Regions from separate parts of the Homo sapiens genome. Here region 1 is linked to region 2. The links are contacts of gene promoters, found by promoter capture Hi-C in blood cells and fetal thymus (Javierre and others, 2016). All regions are on one chromosome and are shown on one strand. The core of a region is centred on a gene start or on the middle of the fragment in contact, and the rest is flanking DNA. Distances in the headings are between cores, read along the strand shown.

The links. Contacts are between HindIII fragments. The CHiCAGO score rates a contact against its expected background, and 5 or more counts as called.
Region 1: a fragment that was not itself captured here is called in contact with the fragment with the promoter of HOXD13 in region 2 in 1 of 17 cell types (naive B cells); the score reaches 5.8 in naive B cells.

The regions. Positions count from the first base shown.
Region 1 is chr2:176,167,612-176,170,780 of GRCh38, forward strand. HOXD3 (homeobox D3) reads left to right here. Exons shown (of 4, transcript NM_006898.5): 3 at 1,420-2,044. The coding sequence starts at 1,504. Among named protein-coding and RNA genes, the nearest start is that of HAGLROS, 9.0 kb to the right of the region's middle. RefSeq lists a silencer at 2,910-3,169. The HindIII fragment of the contact is 9,103 bases long and covers 1-3,169 here.
Region 2 is chr2:176,091,324-176,094,511 of GRCh38, forward strand. It overlaps HOXD13 (homeobox D13), which reads left to right and starts at 1,398. Exons shown (of 2, transcript NM_000523.4): 1 at 1,398-2,348; 2 at 3,157-3,188. The coding sequence starts at 1,568. The HindIII fragment of the contact is 2,791 bases long and covers 1-2,724 here.

The DNA.
Region 1 (3,169 bases), core at 158-2,657, 76 kb after region 2:
CCTGTCATCGTTAAGTGGACTATCTGGACTTTCATGCAAGATGCTGTGATTTTGAAACCAGGTGGGGGGAGACCCTTTTTTTTTTTTTTTTTTTTTTTTTTTTTAAGTTCTGGCTGTTCTGAGCATGTTATAGGACTTTCATTTCCCATCAAAACCTTGTGCTGACCCAATGATTGACTGATTGATCCACTTATTAATTCACCTATTCAACAAGCATTTATTGCACTAACTACATGCAGGGCACTGTGCTGGATGTTAGGAACAGTAGACAAATGACACAGCCCCTGCCTGCAAGGAGCTTACAGTTTAGTGGGCGAATCAGCCAACAAAATGTCTGAGGCTATAAGTACTTTTCCACACAGAAGAAAGGCTAAATGGACAATCTTGAAGAAAGTAAATTGTATCTGGAGGTAGAGGGAAGCCCTTTCCCTCAGCTACAGTTGAGCTAAAAAGAAGGAAACTCTTCTTACATTTAGGAAAAATTCCTTCTGATACTTCCAGAGGTTCAAATAAGTTGAACTTCATAAAATCTGCCAGGCGCAGTGGCTCATGCCTGTAATTCCAGCACTTTGGGAGGCCAAGACGGGAGGATCACAAGAGCCCAGGAACTCAAGACCAGCCTGGGCAACATTGTAAGACCCTGTCTCTACAAAAAAAAAAAAAAAAAAACTAAGAGCTGGCGCAGTGGCTCACACCTGTAATCCCAGCACTTAGGGAGGCCCAGGCGGGTTGATCACCTGAGGTCAGGAGTTCAAGACCAACCTGACCAACATGGTGAAACCCTGTCTCTACTAAAAATATAAAAAATTAGCCAGGTGTGGTGGCAGGTGCCTGTAATCCCAGCTACTCAGGAGGCTGAGGCAGGAGAATTGCTTGAACCCAGAGGCGTAGGTTGCAGTAAGCTGAGATCATGACACTGCACTCCAGCCTTGGCAACAGGAGCAAAATTCCATCTAAAACAAAACAAAACAAAACACTAAGACATGTAGCCAGGCATGGTGGGCACCTGTAGCTACTGCAGAGTAGCTGGGACTCTGAAATACTCTGAAATAGCTATTAATACTGCAGAATAGCTGGGACTTTGAAATACTCTGAAATAGCTATTAATACTGCAGAATAGCTGGGACTTTGAAATACTCTGAAATAGCTATTAATACCAGGCTAAAGTGGGAGGATCGCTTGAGCCCAGTAAATTGAGGCTGCAGTGAGCCATGTTCATGCCACTGCACTCCAGCCTGGGCAACAAGCAAGACACTGTATTAATAAATAAATAGATAAGTAAATAAACTCAGATCCAGCACCTTGCCCATCTCCCCGCCGTGAAGTGGGTAGGAAGCAGAGAGCATGGGCTAGTCCTTCTATATTGACTGGTCTTGCCAATGACACTCCCTCTGGGGCCTCTTGCTTTTCTTCTGACAGGTCACCTGGAGCCTGGGGGCCGGCCCAGCTCTCTCAGGATTCAGCAGACATTGGAGGTGGCAGTGAAGGATACAGTGGTAGTCAATGTTATTTGAGCAGGGTCAGCAGGCCCTGGAGCTTCCTGAGTGCACAATGCAGAAGGCTGCTTACTATGAAAACCCAGGACTGTTTGGAGGCTATGGCTACAGCAAAACTACGGACACTTACGGCTACAGCACCCCCCACCAGCCCTACCCACCCCCTGCTGCTGCCAGCTCCCTGGACACTGACTATCCAGGTTCTGCCTGCTCCATCCAGAGCTCTGCCCCTCTGAGAGCCCCAGCCCACAAAGGAGCTGAACTCAATGGCAGCTGCATGCGGCCGGGCACTGGGAACAGCCAGGGTGGGGGTGGTGGCAGCCAGCCTCCTGGTCTGAACTCAGAGCAGCAGCCACCACAACCCCCTCCTCCACCACCGACCCTGCCCCCATCTTCACCCACCAATCCTGGAGGTGGAGTGCCTGCCAAGAAGCCCAAAGGTGGGCCCAATGCTTCTAGCTCCTCAGCCACCATCAGCAAGCAGATCTTCCCCTGGATGAAAGAGTCTCGACAGAACTCCAAGCAGAAGAACAGCTGTGCCACTGCAGGTAGCTCCCTGAGGTGGCCTACTGCCAGACCAAGCCCCCTCCAGATTGACCCAAGGAAGCCTAGTCAGGGCTGGAAATGCAACCTTGGAGGTCATATGTCTAAACTCCTACTCACGTCAAAATGTTCTTTTTTTTAGTGTTCCTGATTGGGGTCATGACCTTGCAGTGACAGGGTGCTCCCTTCCATTCCAGGCTGCTGGTGCTGTTGCTGGACAGGTCTTATAGCTATTAATAGAGAGTGCTTCCTTATATGGGCATATCTGTTTTCCTGGGCTGCTAATTATAACTCCATTCCCTCTTCCACCCAACAGCTCTTCAAGATTTGAAGATAGGTATTACAATCCCCAAGCCTAGGTGATTATATAGCCCATATCACACGAATCTCATTCCCTTAAACTCATAAAAACTAAAGTCTTAGAAAGTACCATACTAAGTACTTTCTAAGCATTATCTAATTTAATTTTTCAAAGAACCTTTTGAGGTAGGTATATGATAACATCCCCATTTTACAGATAAGAAAACTGTTAGAGAGGATAGGCAACTTGCCCAAGATTCTGAAACTGCAAAGTGGTGGATTTGAATCCAGTCAGTCTGGCTTTAGGGGCTGCTAAGCATAACCATGAGTCTCTATTTGGCCCACCTCAGCCCAATTCTCCCACTCCAGCAAATCCATAATGGGGAGGTGCCTGTCCTAGTAGGAGAGGATATTCTGGGAGACAGTAACAGCCTTGGATTTCTCTAACTGGAAGGGGAGCCCCTCCAGTTGGGGCCTTCTCTAGGTCCACCCAGGGCATGTAGAAGATAGGCATGGCCAGGAACTCTGAGGGCTGTTCCTTCTCTCTGCTTAGACTGCTTGGTTCCTGAAATTTTCTGACCTTGTGGTATCTGATGTGGTTTATCTTCAGGTAGATGAACTTGCTTCCAGGTCCAGGGCAAGTTTGGGGCCTGGGGTGTGGCTTGCTATCAGGGATCTGGTTTGCCTGATGTTTTCTGGGGCTGCTGCTCCTAGGGAGAGGGTATTATCCTGCCTGCAACCTCCTTTTCCTGCCCCTCCTTCCTCAGCTGCAGGCTCAGGCCCTCCCTCCCAGGAGAAATCCATTTGTCTTCCCTGGGAGGGAGTGGACA
Region 2 (3,188 bases), core at 148-2,647:
CCACAGAACCAAATGGGCTCTGAAGGATCCCATATCCACCCCCAGAACCCTGGGCTCATTGGATCTAATATTGTTCCTAAGGCAGAGCCCCAAAGTCACAGCAGGACTCTCATTGGTGCCCCATTAGTTGCTGAGATTGAGGGATGGTGGGCTGGAGCTCTGAGGCTGAGGAGCAACAGAAAGGGATGATGAGGGACAGGGCTGTAATCCCTAACACCCTGGCAGCTTGGTTCCAGAGCTGGACCTAGCCCCACCAGCACTGCCCTGAGCCCACCTAACCCCTTGAAGTCAGACCGTTTCTCTGGGCTGCTCCTATCACAAAATCCGAATTTGCTTGGAACAAGCGCCCTCTTAATTTGCCCCTCTCAGTTCTCTGCAGTTGACAGCTTGGAAAAGGAAGCGAAACAAAGGTCCCTGGGAAAGTGAAGTTTTCAATTAATTTGGTGTGAGAAACGGGCGGGAGTGGGTGGTGACTGCAAAATGCGAGGCCGGTCGGCTGCTGGAGAGACACAGAAGTTTCACGGTGGGAGGCTGAGTGGCTTTCTCCCCCGGCGCCGTTCTCAGGGTCTTTCTGCGGGTCGAAGAAGGACCCGCGGGAGCTGAGAGGCCCAGGTCGGAAGCACTCCCGGCTGGCCCAAGAGTAGAGGCGAAGAGCGTTGAGTAGGCATCCATGGACTTTTCTTTCTGGGACAGATTGTCAGGCTCACTGCGCCGATGCCTGTCTTTCATCTGTTTAAGTCTCTGCCGCCAGCCCCAAGGGCGCTTCATGGGCATTTTCCGAACGGACAGCGTGTGTGTATAGGAAGGGTCTGCTCCAATGCCTCTTACCTGTGTGAAATGCCTTTGCCGGGTACCAGTGCACAAGGTAGGGCAAATTAGCTCACTCGGATTTGGGGTCTAGAAGTCGACTAACTGAGGGATTCAGCAACAGGATAAAAAAATGGGCCTGTTTTCACATCATTCTGATCATCTCTGTCCTTCGTCTTCATTTTGCTGTGCAACTCGGGGAGCCGAGGAGAGGTGGCAAAAACAGCGGTTGCCGAGACAAGGCGCAGGCCTTGGCGCCCGCCTCAGTCGCAGACAGGGCCTGGGATGGGCCGTCGCGCAATCAACTCGTGGGGGTGGCTGCAGCGCGTACGCCTGGGTCGGGGGGGAGGGCGGGAATGGGAGGTGGACCCTGCAAGGGGCAGGAGAGGGGTGGGGGCCGGAGTGGGTGGGTCCAGCCAGGCCTGGGCCGGGAGCCAGGCTCCCCCGCGTTCCTACCCCCACGTGGCCGCGCGCAGCCAATGGCACGCCCCCGGCGGGGGCCCTCGGGGCGGGAGGCGGCCCCCCGACCGGCCCAGGCCCCCTCCCAACCTGAACTTCGTTTTTATAAACGTCCCGCGATGAGCTAACCTGTTGGAGGGCAGGCGGGCCGGAGGCGGGAGGCTCACAGAGGGAGAGAGGGCTAGAGGAAGAGGGCGGGAGCGAGCGAACCAGAGAGAAAGGAGAGGAGGGAGGAGGCGCGCCGCGCCATGGTGTCCTGCGCGGGGCCAGGGCCAGGGCCGGGGCCGGGCCAGGCCGGGCCATGAGCCGCGCCGGGAGCTGGGACATGGACGGGCTGCGGGCAGACGGCGGGGGCGCCGGTGGCGCCCCGGCCTCTTCCTCCTCCTCATCGGTGGCGGCGGCGGCGGCGTCAGGCCAGTGCCGCGGCTTTCTCTCCGCGCCTGTGTTCGCCGGGACGCATTCGGGGCGGGCGGCGGCGGCGGCAGCGGCGGCTGCGGCGGCGGCGGCGGCAGCCTCCGGCTTTGCGTACCCCGGGACCTCTGAGCGCACGGGCTCTTCCTCGTCGTCGTCCTCTTCTGCCGTTGTAGCGGCGCGCCCGGAGGCTCCCCCAGCCAAAGAGTGCCCAGCACCCACGCCTGCAGCGGCCGCTGCAGCGCCCCCGAGCGCTCCAGCGCTGGGCTACGGCTACCACTTCGGCAACGGCTACTACAGCTGCCGTATGTCGCACGGCGTGGGCTTACAGCAGAATGCGCTCAAGTCATCGCCGCACGCCTCGCTGGGAGGCTTTCCCGTGGAGAAGTACATGGACGTGTCAGGCCTGGCGAGCAGCAGCGTACCGGCCAACGAGGTGCCAGCGCGAGCCAAGGAGGTATCCTTCTACCAGGGCTATACGAGCCCTTACCAGCACGTGCCCGGCTATATCGACATGGTGTCCACTTTCGGCTCCGGGGAGCCTCGGCACGAGGCCTACATCTCCATGGAGGGGTACCAGTCCTGGACGCTGGCTAACGGGTGGAACAGCCAGGTGTACTGCACCAAGGACCAGCCACAGGGGTCCCACTTTTGGAAATCTTCCTTTCCAGGTAGGGGCGATGGAGAAAAGGGACCGACACGAGGGAGGGGGAGAGAGAAGGAGAAAAGAAAGGACTAAGAGTATGCGCCCCTACTTGGGAGTGGGAGTTGTGCCTGTGCTCCACACGTGACCAGGGTTAACCCAGTGGAAATTTGTCCAGTTCGTGTGAAATCTGTAAATTCCTCCTCTGATTTCAACTGCCTCCGTCACTGCCCTTTCTTTCCTGTGTGCAGCGCAGACACGTTTTTCTCCTAAAGTTGAGAGTCTCTGCGTGCCCTTTCCTTGGGCCTCTCCCTTTTCTCCTAAAGAGAACTTTTTCCTAAGAAACCTGACAGAGTTGGGTCCCCCCATTTTCAAAGACATCACTGCCCCAAGATGACTACTAAAGCTTGTTAGATCAAGCTCACGAACTCCTAACATAGGAACGCGGGAAATCAAAATTTGAGCAAAAGACCTGAGTTGGTATGTGTCTATGTATGTAAGTTTGTTTTTATACAACCGACATTTGCAGAAACTGTCCTCATGAACGTGCCCAATAACCACACCATAAAATTGCAAGCTTGTTAAGATGCCGGTTTGAGAAACTATGATAATCAATCAAATTAACCATTGTTGTTAAGTGCAAATAATCCTTCTTTAATAACAGGTAAGTGTTATGTCTATGTACATAATAAAGACCAAACAGCATGGCATTTTTTAAAAATTTCCTGCACCCCTGCAAACGCACACACACACACACACACACACACACACACAATCCTCAGCTAGGTGCTCCGAATATCCCAGCCTAATTTTTCTTGTGCTTTTGTTTGTATCAGGGGATGTGGCTCTAAATCAGCCGGACATGTGC